Linked DNA regions of Homo sapiens: region 2 is linked to region 1. Evidence: promoter capture Hi-C in 16 types of primary human blood cells and fetal thymus (Javierre and others, 2016). All regions are on one chromosome and are shown on one strand. The core of a region is centred on a gene start or on the middle of the fragment in contact, and the rest is flanking DNA. Distances in the headings are between cores, read along the strand shown.

What was found. The method cuts DNA at HindIII sites, captures the fragments that hold promoters and counts their contacts. A CHiCAGO score of 5 or more calls a contact.
Region 2: a contact is called between a fragment that was not itself captured here and the fragment with the promoter of RPS25 in region 1, in 2 of 17 cell types (naive CD8 T cells and naive B cells). The highest score is 5.7, in naive CD8 T cells.

The regions. Positions count from the first base shown.
Region 1 is chr11:119,013,748-119,019,826 of GRCh38, reverse strand. It overlaps RPS25 (ribosomal protein S25), which reads left to right and starts at 1,484. Exons shown (of 5, transcript NM_001028.3): 1 at 1,484-1,545; 2 at 1,774-1,869; 3 at 2,282-2,465; 4 at 3,888-3,986; 5 at 4,069-4,110. The coding sequence starts at 1,543. The coding sequence ends at 3,982. It overlaps TRAPPC4 (trafficking protein particle complex subunit 4), which reads right to left and starts at 1,061. Exons shown (of 5, transcript NM_016146.6): 1 at 857-1,061; 2 at 510-684. The coding sequence starts at 1,031. It overlaps CENATAC (centrosomal AT-AC splicing factor), which reads right to left. Exons shown (of 11, transcript NM_198489.3): 9 at 4,744-4,833; 10 at 4,388-4,520; 11 at 4,034-4,289. The coding sequence ends at 4,229. RefSeq lists enhancers at 490-1,188, 1,443-1,672, 1,693-1,762 and a silencer at 1,083-1,202. The HindIII fragment of the contact is 1,015 bases long and covers 538-1,552 here.
Region 2 is chr11:119,281,694-119,287,772 of GRCh38, reverse strand. CBL (Cbl proto-oncogene) reads right to left here. Exons shown (of 16, transcript NM_005188.4): 10 at 2,673-2,804; 11 at 2,207-2,584. Among named protein-coding and RNA genes, the nearest start is that of MIR6756, 28 kb to the left of the region's middle. The HindIII fragment of the contact is 1,516 bases long and covers 2,767-4,282 here.

The DNA.
Region 1 (6,079 bases), core at 235-2,734:
GGTCATTTAGTTAAACTGGCTTTCTTTAAATATGAAGAAACTAAGGCTCAGAGAAGAGAAGTTGACTTTAAGTAAGATGACACCTCGGCCGGGCGCGGTGGCTCACTCCTGTAATCCCAGCACTTTGGGAAGCCGAGGCAGGTGGATCACCTGAGGTCAGGAGTTTGAGACCAGCCTGGCCAACATGGCAAAACCCCTCTCTACTAAAAATACAAAAATTAGCTGGTCGTGGTGGCACGCGCCTGTAATCCCAGCTACTCGGGAGGCTGAGGCAGGAGAATCGCTTGAACCTGGGAGGCAGAGGCTGCAGTGAGCCGAGATCCCGCCACTGCGCTCCAGCCTGGGTAACTCCGCGGCCCCTCCCCACCCAGCAAAAAAAGATGACACCACTGCCGTTATTACCTAAAATCTAGATCTGGATCGGTTGCGTTTTTCATAACACCAGAACGACGATTTAAGAAAAGGTAGACAAATTACAAGCGCTGCCGTTCAGGAGACGGGGGACTTACGAGTGGAACATGGAGGCCAGCATAAGCTTCTCATTAGAAGTGAGGCGGGGCCGGCCAAATCGAATGGACACCGGGTAATTAGCAGGGTTACCCAGATACTCCAGCACCTCTTTCCCGTCGGCCGTGTACCTGCCATTCACGTCCATGCCATTGATGGCCAGCACTGCATGACCCACTGCAGAGGTGAAGCTAACGGTCAGCGAAGGTGCAGCCCGGGGATTCCGCCGAGGGGACAAGGGACCCGACACAACCCCTTTTCCCCCAACCCCGCACCTACAACCAGCCCACTTCTACAGCACTGGGGCCCTCCCACCCCCGCACCCGCCACGGGCCCGAGCCTAGCCCACCTCGGATGCCGTCCCGCTGGCCGAAAGCAACCAACACACGCTCATCGTGTAGCTTGAGCAGCAGATCCAGCGGATAACTGAAAGTTTTCTCAGCCTCAGCCCGTGGCGCGTAGCTGTCCAACTGGTAAATCAAGCCGCCAGCTTTGTTCACCACATACACACTAAAAATCGCCATCGCTGCCTTGCCGCTCGGAAACTGGTATTCAGCCTCTACCCGACGGCCCCTCCCCGGAACCGCATCACAGCACTTGCCGCCGGCCCCACCCCAGCCTCCTCCTCCTCCTCCTCCTCCTCCCGCGCCCCCCGTGCAGCCACCTGCTGCACTTGCGCACTGGGAGCGACACGCTCGGGCATAAGTAGTGCCGGAAAGTTAGCTGCCGAGACCTGGTGGATTGCTTTTCGTTTATCAGTGCAGGAAAACAGCGCTATAGTATGCGTCACAACTAGCGCAGACTCCGGCAGTATTTAGGCGGTGCGGCTTGGGAACTAGAATCCACTTCCTGTCTTCCGCCTCAGGCTAGAGGGCGAGCGCTTCGCCGTGGGACTTCTTCTGCCTGGCTCCGCCTTTTGCCCCGGAAGTACTCACAGCGGACGGTGGTTTTTGGGCCCGTTTCTGAGCAGCGCTTCCTTTTTGTCCGACATCTTGACGAGGCTGCGGTGTCTGCTGCTATTCTCCGAGCTTCGCAATGGTAAGCTTCAGGGGTGTGAAGTCGCCGGCGTTCTTGGGTTTGAGGACTCAGTGGGGAGAGCCTTCGGCGGGAGCGCTCCTTGGCCTGCCGGCCTCGGTTGCAGGGCGGGCGCGGTTATTGCTTGGCCCATGTGCTCTGGTGGTGGAGTTTGCGGGGGCTGAGGGCGCAGTATTAGGGGACTTTGGCGCTATTTGAGGACCTGGTTGCATTCCCGCTGCCCTCCTACAGCCGCCTAAGGACGACAAGAAGAAGAAGGACGCTGGAAAGTCGGCCAAGAAAGACAAAGACCCAGTGAACAAATCCGGGGGCAAGGCCAAAAAGAAGGTAGAAATAAGACCTCTCTGAAAGAGACTAGGGGTAACTCTCTCGTAATCCTCTAGTAATAGGTAACTTGTATAGTAAGTGGTTTTTCAGGTGTAGATTTCTAGAGTCAAAATGTGAGAGTTTATCTTCCCGTCACCACTCGTTCTTTTTCCCATTAGGATCATGAAAATGGGTCTGTTGTGCGAAGTGTCTGCCGCTGTGCCTGCTGTGTTATTTTTAACTGATCTAGTGGGGCTCGGCCCCTGTTTGAAGGCCAAAAACGTGTCGGTGTTTTTTTTTTGTTTTTGTTTTAGTAATGTGTAATTTATCCTTGATAACGGTGGAACAGATTTCTCTGACGCAGATTACTCGAGAGGGAAAGGGTGCTTCTGCCAGAAATACTAACTTGTTTCTGTTTTGTTTTGGTGAGCAGAAGTGGTCCAAAGGCAAAGTTCGGGACAAGCTCAATAACTTAGTCTTGTTTGACAAAGCTACCTATGATAAACTCTGTAAGGAAGTTCCCAACTATAAACTTATAACCCCAGCTGTGGTCTCTGAGAGACTGAAGATTCGAGGCTCCCTGGCCAGGGCAGCCCTTCAGGAGCTCCTTAGTAAAGGTGAGGGGTGTATCCTACATGTGTGTTTTTGTAGGTTAAATTGTCTTGACCATGTTAAGCATCTTCAGTGGTTTTGCTGGAAAAGCAGAATTAAAAAAAAAAAGCGTGGCTTGACCATTGGCTGTTAGTAATGTAATTCTGACGTCTTACTCCTGATCCTGAGATGAATTCTCAGGGTTCTTAGCCACTTTTGTGCCGTGGACCCTGTGGCAGTTTAGTGAAGCCCAAGGATCTTTTATGTTTCGAGTAAATGGATGCATAGAATTACAGGGACAACCGTTTTTGAAATAATTAGATTACTATTTTGAAACAACTTTGAAAATGTTTAAAACCTTTATGGTAAATATTTTGTTGATGTATTAAATTTTAAAACCAGAAATTTAGTACGGTCTACTCAGTAGTATGGTCTGATTACCATAATTCCACAATAATAAGGCTCAGCTAACTATAGTGACTGAACGTCTATAATTCTAGCACTTTGGGAGGCCAAGGCGGGTGAATCAACGGAGGTCAGGAGTTAAAGACCAGCCTGGCCAATATGGTGAAAACCTGCTCTACTGAAAGTTAGCTGGACGTGGGGGCACACGTCTGTAATCCCAGCTACTCAGGATGCTGAGGCATGAGGATCCCTTGAACCCAGGAGATGGAGGTGGCAGTGAGCCGAGATGACACCACTGCACTCCAGCCTTAGTGACAGCAAAAGACTGTCTCAGAAAGGGGGGGGGGGTGGAAGATAATGGAGCCCTAATTTAAAGGAAAAGTAAGGATAGATGATCGTTAAAAACTAGGATTCTCGGTTACCGAACGTCAGATTAAGCAATTCTGGAGCCAGGTGCAGTGGTACCCTTGTATTTCTAGCTACTTGGGAGGCCAAAGCAGGAGGATCATTTGAGCCAAGGAGTTTTAAGACCATTCTGGGCACCTCTGAGAGAACTCTGTCTTTTTGTTTTCCTTTTCTTTAAATAGAGATGCGGTTTTGCCATGTTGCCCAGGCTGGTCTCCTGGGCTCAAGAGATCCACCTGTCCAAAGTGCTGGGATTACAGGCATGAGCCTCTGCACCCGGCCAAAACAAACCTTACTAGAGTCTCATTCTGTTGCCCAGGTTGGAGTGCGGAGGGGCAGTCTTGGCTCAATGCAACCACCAATTCCTGGGTTCAGGTGGTCCTCACCTCAGCTTCCCAAGTAGCTGGAATTACAAGCATGTGCCACCATGCCCAGCTAATTTTTGTATTTTTGGTAGAGATGGGGTTTCACCTTGTTGGCCAGGCTGGTGTGCAACTCCTTACCTCAAGCTATCTGCCCGTCTCCACCTCCCAAAGCAGTGGGATTATAAGCATGAGCCACCGCGCCCAGCCAAAAACCTTACTAGTTTCTATTGTAGCATCTGTTAAGCATCTCATCGTGCTATTCTCTCCCCCTAGGACTTATCAAACTGGTTTCAAAGCACAGAGCTCAAGTAATTTACACCAGAAATACCAAGGGTGGAGATGCTCCAGCTGCTGGTGAAGATGCATGAATAGGTGAGTAGGAATGTGTGGGCTCATGGTGTAGGAGGTAGATACAAAGCTTTATGGTTCTGATTCTTTTAATTTTTTTTTACAGGTCCAACCAGCTGTACATTTGGAAAAATAAAACTTTATTAAATCAAATGAATGAGTATGTCTGTTTCCTAAGAAAGACAATGATAAAGAATTTGGTGGAAGGTATAATAGGGGTTTGTTGACTTTGCTTTTAGCCTCATGGTAGTTGGTAGAGAGCATGATTAGCTTTTTTCTGTATGTGACTGCTTCTTCATTGCTGCAGCTTCAGTTTTGAATTGATGTCTGAAAGGAAATAAAGGGTTAACACGATGATGAAGGGTGACATCTCCAAAAAGGAGGTTGGATGGGTAGGTTGGAGACCCGGCACTGAACACACATACCTGGACTGCCAGCGGCGTCCATTATTCCAGACGCGGCCAAAAGAGGGCAGCCAGCCTGCACTGGTCCTGGAGCTGTGATCAAAGTTGGCCCCAACTCGGTCTGGGGGGAGTTTTTTCAACTTCTGTTTTTCCTCTGTACAATGATAGGGAAACTTTTATTTTTCTTTATTGAAGAATATAGAGATGGGGTCTCACTATGTTGTCCAGGCTGTTTTCAAACTTCTGGGCTCAAGTGACCCTCCCACCTCAGCCTCCCAAAATGCTAGGATTATAGCCATGAGCCACCACACACAGGCAAGGAAACCATTTTTGAGTGTGAAGATTTAGACGATCCTCTCTTGAATTAGTTTACTTACTTTCTTTAAGAAATTCTTCATAGGATGGTCCTATTTCTTGGTTCCCAGCAATGTATTCTTCATCTTGGATCATCCAGGGAGGTGTGGCACCTGAAAAAAAAATTAAGGCTTTTTTTTTTTTTTTTAAGTCTTCAGGCTATTGTGAAACATGTCCTAGCTGTTAGCTTACCTCTCCTCATTAAGAGCTAGAAATGTCTAAAAGCAAAGCCCAGGAATTCTGGAGCTTTAGAAGGCCCTAGGCTAATTTAAAGCGACATACCCCATATGTGACAGTCATTTTAAAATGGCTTTGAGGCACAACTGACATAAACGATACACACTTAAATTTGGTGACTTTTGAGCGAAGCCATTACAATCTAGACCCCAAACATCCCCCTGTAAGTATCACTGCCCCCATTAAAATATTTTCATGTCCAGGCAATCGGTGATCTTTCAGTTGCTTTATTGGTTTGTATTTTTTAGGATTTTCTGTGTGTGGACATTGAGGTGGGGTCTGGCCTTTTGTTTTTTTGAGAGGAGTCTCGCTCTAGCCCAGGCTGGACACAATCTCAGCTCACTGCAACCTCCGCCTCCCAGGTCTCGGTTCAAACAATTCTGCCTCAGCCTCCCAAGTAGCTGGGATTACAGGCGTGCGCTGCGATGCCCAGCTAATTTTTGAATTTTTAGTAGAGATGGGGTTTCACCATGTTGGCCAAACTGGTCTTGAACTCCTGACCTCGTGATCCGCCTGCCTTGGCCTCCCAAAGTGTCGGGATTACAGGCATGAGCCACCACGCCGGCCAGGTCTGGACTTCTGAGATTCATCTGTGTCGTACGTATCAATAATTCTGTCTTCATCCTGGAATACTATTCCATTGTTAATCCATTTGCCTGTTGATAGACATCTGAATTGTTTCCAATTTGGAGCTGCTACAAGTGAAGCTGTTCTGAAGATTTGTGTACAAGTCTATGTAGACAGGCTTTCTTTTCTCTAGTTAGGGGTGGAACGGTTGGATAATGTGGTAGGTGTATCCCAAACTGTTTTCCAAAGTGACTGTACCAGTTTACATTCTAAGAGCAGTGTATGAAGGTTTGGTTTTTCTACACTGCCAAACACTTGGCATGATCAGTCTTTAATTTCTGCCATTCCAATACATATGTAGTGGTATTTCACTGTGGTTTTAATTTGCATTTCTCTAATGACTAATGTTGAACATTATTCATATGCTTTTATTGGGTTGTTTCCTTATCAAGTTGACAGTTCTTCATATATTCTGGATATAAGGCTTTTACCGATACATACGCTTTATCTTGGCCAACTTTATTTAAAAAAAAAAAAAAAGTCCGGGCACGGTGG
Region 2 (6,079 bases), core at 2,275-4,774, 270 kb before region 1:
AACAATAACAGATACAAACCTAACTCTCAATGCCATGCCCAGGGGTTATCACATCTGACCAAACGCTTAGGGGCCTTAAGGCTCCGAAGAACCTTCAAATGTAAAGTTTAGAGAGGTGGAGATCTAGAAAGAGCCAGGGAAATGAACTTTTTGGTTTAATTCTAAAAAGATTTGAGTAAATTGGCTATCTACACAAATACCATTAGTATCTTAAATAATCTATATCCAAACGCAAAATGGTCATTCTATACTGATGCTGCCAGAAAGTCAAACCTAATCCACACTCACTAATTAGGCTATCCACCCCACAGGTACCACTTGAGCATTACCCTTTCTCTGCAACCAAGAGATGCCATTCACTTAGTGCCACAACACTTCTCAACTTCACTCTTCCCATTCTGCCTCCTTGGATTTCTGACTGCCTACTTGCTGATGCTTCCATCAACTGCTCATTTCAAATGCAACAGTCAGCCAGGTAAAAGTTTCGTTTTTACGCGCATGCAGTGCACGTGTGGTACTTACCTTTTTTTCCACCCACTGACTGCTTTTCAAGCCTTAACAAGTCTTTATTTCATGCTCTCGAAAGGCTTCGACCTAATCATCTGGCTGCCCACTCTGCTCATAAACAATGATTCTCTCTCTTGCTCATTTAGTACTGGCTATATTAAACCCCTTTGTTATTCTTCAGTCTCTCCCAAACTCACTTGCTTTTTCCTTCATCCTGGAATAATCTCCCCTGGGATCAGCATGGCACATCCTCCTACTGCTACAGGTTTCTGCTCAGAATTGTACTCTATAACTTCACATACCTCCCACTCCTATGCCAGCTTTCTCTATACCCTTCTTTGGGCTATTTTTCTCCATAGCACTTGTGACTGTGAACATACTATGTTATTCAATTAACATGTTTATATTCCATCTTCCTCCCATTAGAATATAAACTTTGTGAGGGCAAGACTTTTTGTTAAGTGCATAAATGAACAAAACATCAAATATTCCTCTCCCACCTCTCAGTTCTGGACCCTTTCTTGCATATTTAGACAAAGGACCAATAACCTACCCCCTTCAAATGCTCTTCATTTCCTACCATACAAATTAAAATTCTTTTGGGAGAGGGTATTCAACTCTCTCTAATCTAGTGTGATGTTCCTTTCCAGTTCTTTCTCCTACTGACAAAATTTCTGCTCTACTTAAAATAACCTAATCATCATTCCACAATACACCTTAGGCATTTCTGTCATTGTGGCTGTTATCAATCTGAAAACCGTATCCACTTTCCAAAGAAATACTTCAGATCTCAGATGCCACTCCTTCTATAAAGTTCTCATGATTGCCCTATCTGGGAATAACCTCTTATTTCTCTAAAACTTAAGTGTTTTCTAGTTAGATTACAAATGGCATTTATGAAAGGACATTTACTGCAATATTTACAAACTGCCTCATCTGGTCTGTGAATATACACATTTTTTTTTTGAGACAAAGTTTCACTCTTGTTGCCCAGGCTGGAGTGCAATCACCTGATCTCAGCTCACTGCAACCTCTGCCTCCAGGTTCAAATGAATCTCCTGCCTCAGCCTCCTGAGTAGCTGGAATTACAGACACCCACCACCAGGCCCAGTTAATTTTTTGTATTTTTAGTAGAGACGGGGTTTCATCATGTTAGCCAGGGTGGTCTCAAACTCCTGACCTCAGGTGATCCACCCGCCTCGGCCTCCTAAAGTGCTGTGATTGCAGGTGTGAGCCACCACGCCCAGCCATATTTCTTGAGGGTAGGAATTATGTTATAGCATCTCTGAATTCCATATAAAACTTATCACAAAATTTCAACCCATAAACTTCTATCCACACATATTTCTTTTTCTTTCTTCTTTTTTTTCAAGACAGGGTCTTACTCTATTGCCTAGGCTGGAGTGCAGTGGCGCCATCATGGCTCACTGAAAGCTTGGCCTCCTGGGCCCAAGCAATATTCCCACCTCAGCCTCCCGAGTAGCTGGAATTACAGGCAAGTGCCACCACGCCCAGCTAATTTTTGTAATTTTTGTAGAGACAGGGTTTCACTACGTCCCCCAGGCTGGTCTCGAAATCCTCGGCTCAAGCGATCCACCCACCTTGGCCTCCCAAATTGCTGGGATTACAGACATGAGCCACTGTGCCTGGCCCACACATATTTCTTAACAGGTTAGATAGTTTCAAAATTAAGACTCACCATGGAGGTATCCAGACTGAACGTGCTTCCGAGCCTAGGCACATCTGGTCTGGGCTCCATTTGTGAGGGCAATGAAAATGGAAGTGAGTGCCGGTTGGTTAATTCTCTTCCTGTCCAGGGATCACTGGAACTTGGGGCAGATACTGGTACTTTGGGGATTGGCCGGGGCAGCCATGAGTCTCCAAGGCGGCTAGAGGGGACAGGGGGCAGTTTGTCTCTGGAGGGACAGTCGCCTGGTGTACAAGGCAAGGGGCGTCTTTGAGGTCGGGATTCTGCTCCAACAGAATATGGCCGGTCTGGAGGCGGTGGTGGTGGAAGATCTCGAAGTGTGGGAGGTACTGGCAATGGTTTGTCTTTATGAAGGGAGCCAGAAGCAGCCTGTGGAAGCAGGGTGAAAGCAAATCAGTAAAAACCCACTAGTACACAGCAAAGAATCCAAAAACTGCAGTAATGGAAAATGCTTTACCTTAGAAGCAGTTCCAAGAGCAGAAGCACTTGAGGGAACACATACTCGCTGCGGCAGAAGGTCAAGTCGTGGTGGCACCGGGGGAAGGGAAGCTTGTGGGGCCATGGAGAATGGAGAAGGCGGCCGTTCCACCTAGGGTACATAAAAAATTTAACAGATTACTTTCGTTTGGGGAAATGGCATCTTTCAACTCTCCTAAAGCTGTGGATGGCAAATACCATGGGAACACTTAAACTACAAATGGGCCAGACCTAGGTTTGAGGTCGCACACACCCTCTTAAAAAACTTCCAGAGACTCTAGCACTTCCTGAATAATTTTTGTGTCACCATAAGAGGGCACTCTCAATCACAGAAACACCATACCCATGGCAAGCTACAGGTAATCTATCTAGAAAGGACAGGGCTACAAAAAGTTTCCTAGTTTACAACTTTAAAAATTACAACAGTTTTCTACCCCCTCATCTTTGGAGAAAGAAAAAAATCTTTTCAAGATTAAAAATAGGAATCCATATAAAAAGTAAGGGGCAGGCCATGCACAGTGGCCCACACCTGTAATACTAACATTTTGGGAGGCAGGAGTTCGAGACCAGTATGGGCAACATAATGAGACCCCATCTCTACAAAAAATAAAATAAAAAATTAGCTGGGCCATGGTGGCACACAGCTATTTGGGAGGCTAAAACAGGAAGACTGCTTGAGCCTAGGAGTTTGAGACTGCAGTGAACCATAATCTAGCCACTGTACTCCAGCCTGGGCAACAGAGCAAGAGCCTGTCTCGACAAAAATAAAATAAAAAAAAAGGATGGCAGTGGGGCGGGGGGTGCAGATATTAACCTCTTAACAAAGTACCTGGGAAAACAATGTTTAAGGGACATAATAAAGAAAGAGATCGATGACGGTGAATTCTCTATGGGTTATTAAGGTAAGAAAGAAGATGAGAGTCGGTACAGTGGCTCACACCTGTAATCCTGCATTTGGGGAGGCAGGAGGATTGCTTGAGGCCAGGAGTTCAAGACCAGCCTTGTCAACATAGTGAGATCCCTCTAAAAAATTTTAACTAAAAATTTTTTTAAGGTGAATTTGTAAAGAAAAATGATCAAGAATATCACTAAAAAGCATCTTGAGTCCTTCCAAAGAAATAAATTATTTCAATTCAATAATTAAGGCCAGGCGTGGTGGCTCACGCCTGTAATCGCAGCACTTTGGGAGGCTGAGGCGGGTGGATCACGAGGTCAGGAGATCGAGACCATCTTGGCTAACACGGTGAAACCCCGTCTCTACTAAAAATACAAAAAATTAGCCAGGTGTGGTGGCGGGCGCCTGTAGTCCCAGCTATTCAGGAGGCTGAGGCAGGAGAATGGCATGAACCCGGGAGGCGGAGCTTGCAGTGAGCCGAGATAGCGCCACTGCACTCCAGCCTGGGCAAAAGAGCAAGACTCCATCTCAAAAAAAAAAAAAAAAAAAAAAAAAAAAAAGAAAGAATTAAAAAGGATTAATATTTTCTGTCAATTTGAGCTCTAAAAAATGAGGTACCAAATTAGAAGAAAGAACACATATATAACCTTTTCCATTTCCCTGCCTATAGCAGGCTTAGGAATAGCTGATAAGCTTGTCAAAGTAAGCTGTCAAGAGATACACAGTAATTCATTAAAAAAAAAATGCTACTCTGCATTTAAATTCCCCAACAGCAAAGCAACACTGACAGAAAAACAGCCATATTTAGTCATGTTATTAGTGCTGGGTGGTGGATGACAGAAAAGCTCTCATCTTTAACTCTTTGCTTTATCCACATGCTTAAGATAACGGGTTCCCAATTAGCTGACAATGCAGCATGAGCAGCTAAACAGCTCAATGACAAAAGTCAAAGTTACTAGTCAAGCCTCCTCTCACTTCATCATAATTATTTTGTCAGTAGCTATATCCTGCTGATTTTTCCCTAAAAGATTCTCATACCTGTATATTTCATTTCATTCTACTTACCAACCCCAGACCTTACTTATTTATGGGAGACAGGGTCTTGCTCTGTAGCCCAGGCTGGACTGCAGTGGCACAAACATGGTGCACTGCAGCCTTGACCTCCTGGGCTCAAGCCATCCTCCTGCCTCAGCCTCTCAAGTAGCTGGGACAAGCTGTGCGCCACCACATGTGGCTTTTTTTTTTTTGGGGCGCGGGGAAGGCACGGGTAGACGGGGTCTTGTCATGTTGCCCAGGGTGGACTCAAACCTCTGGGCTAAAGTGATCCTCCTTGCCTTGGCCTCCCAAAGGGCTGGCATTACAGGCGTGAGCCACCGCGGGTGGCCGTGATTTATTAAAACAACCTAGTGAACTTCCCAACTTGTAGTTTATCTCACCACATCCTTCTGCTTACCACTATCAGCTTAGCCATTCTTAAACACTCACCAACTCAAAAACCACCAGTAACTCCCAATTTGCCCTGTTACAAAATCTCACCCTCCTGCCCAGCTTTCACAAGTCTTTCTAATCTGGTCTCTGCAACCAAAGAAAGGTATTTCCCACAACTCCCTAACAAGCATCAACGCTGCTCTATTCAGGCTCATCTCCTCAGTGTTTCCTGCACATTCTAATGATTATTTCGACTTCCGTATCATTCTTTAAATCCTTTCCCCATTCTGGAAGGCCCTCTCTGCCGATCATCAATCTTTCTCTCATTCCTTAGGCACAGAGGGTTGAACTAATCATATTTTTACATTCATGTCTCAACATCATAATGGATCCTTGCAATAGTCTTTTTTTTTTTTTTTGAGATGGAGTCTCACTCTTGTTGCCCAGGCTGGAGTGAAATAGTGCGATCTCAGCTCGCTGCAACCTCTGCCTCCCAGGTTCAAGCCATTCTCTGGCCTCAGCCTCCCAAGTAACTGGGATTATAGGCATGCGCCACCATGCCTGGCTAATTTTCGTATTTTTAGTAGAGACAGGGTTTCACCACACTGGCCAGGCTGGTATGGAACTTCTGATCTCAGGTGATCTGCCCGCTTCGGCCTCCCAAAGTGCTGGGATTACACGCATGAGCCACCGCACCCGGCCGCAATATTCTTTTATCATAGCATATAAGGCTCCAGAAAAGGTGGAACCTTTATAAATTTATAAATGGAAAATAAGTGATCAGAGAAATACAAACATTTCCAAGACTTCAAGACTTAAAGGACATAAATATCCAAATAGAAAGGGTTTATTACATACCTAGCTCAATGAAAGAAAGGAAACCCACAACAAACAAACCAAAAATACCCTTACAATTTTCATCAAATCAAGGATGAGGAAAATATCTTAAAAGCTTCTGGTGGGCCAGGTGCAGTGGCTCACACCTGTAATCCCAGCACTGTGGGAGGCCGAGGCAGGCGGATCACAAGGTCAGGAGATCAAGACCATCCTGGCTAACATGGTGA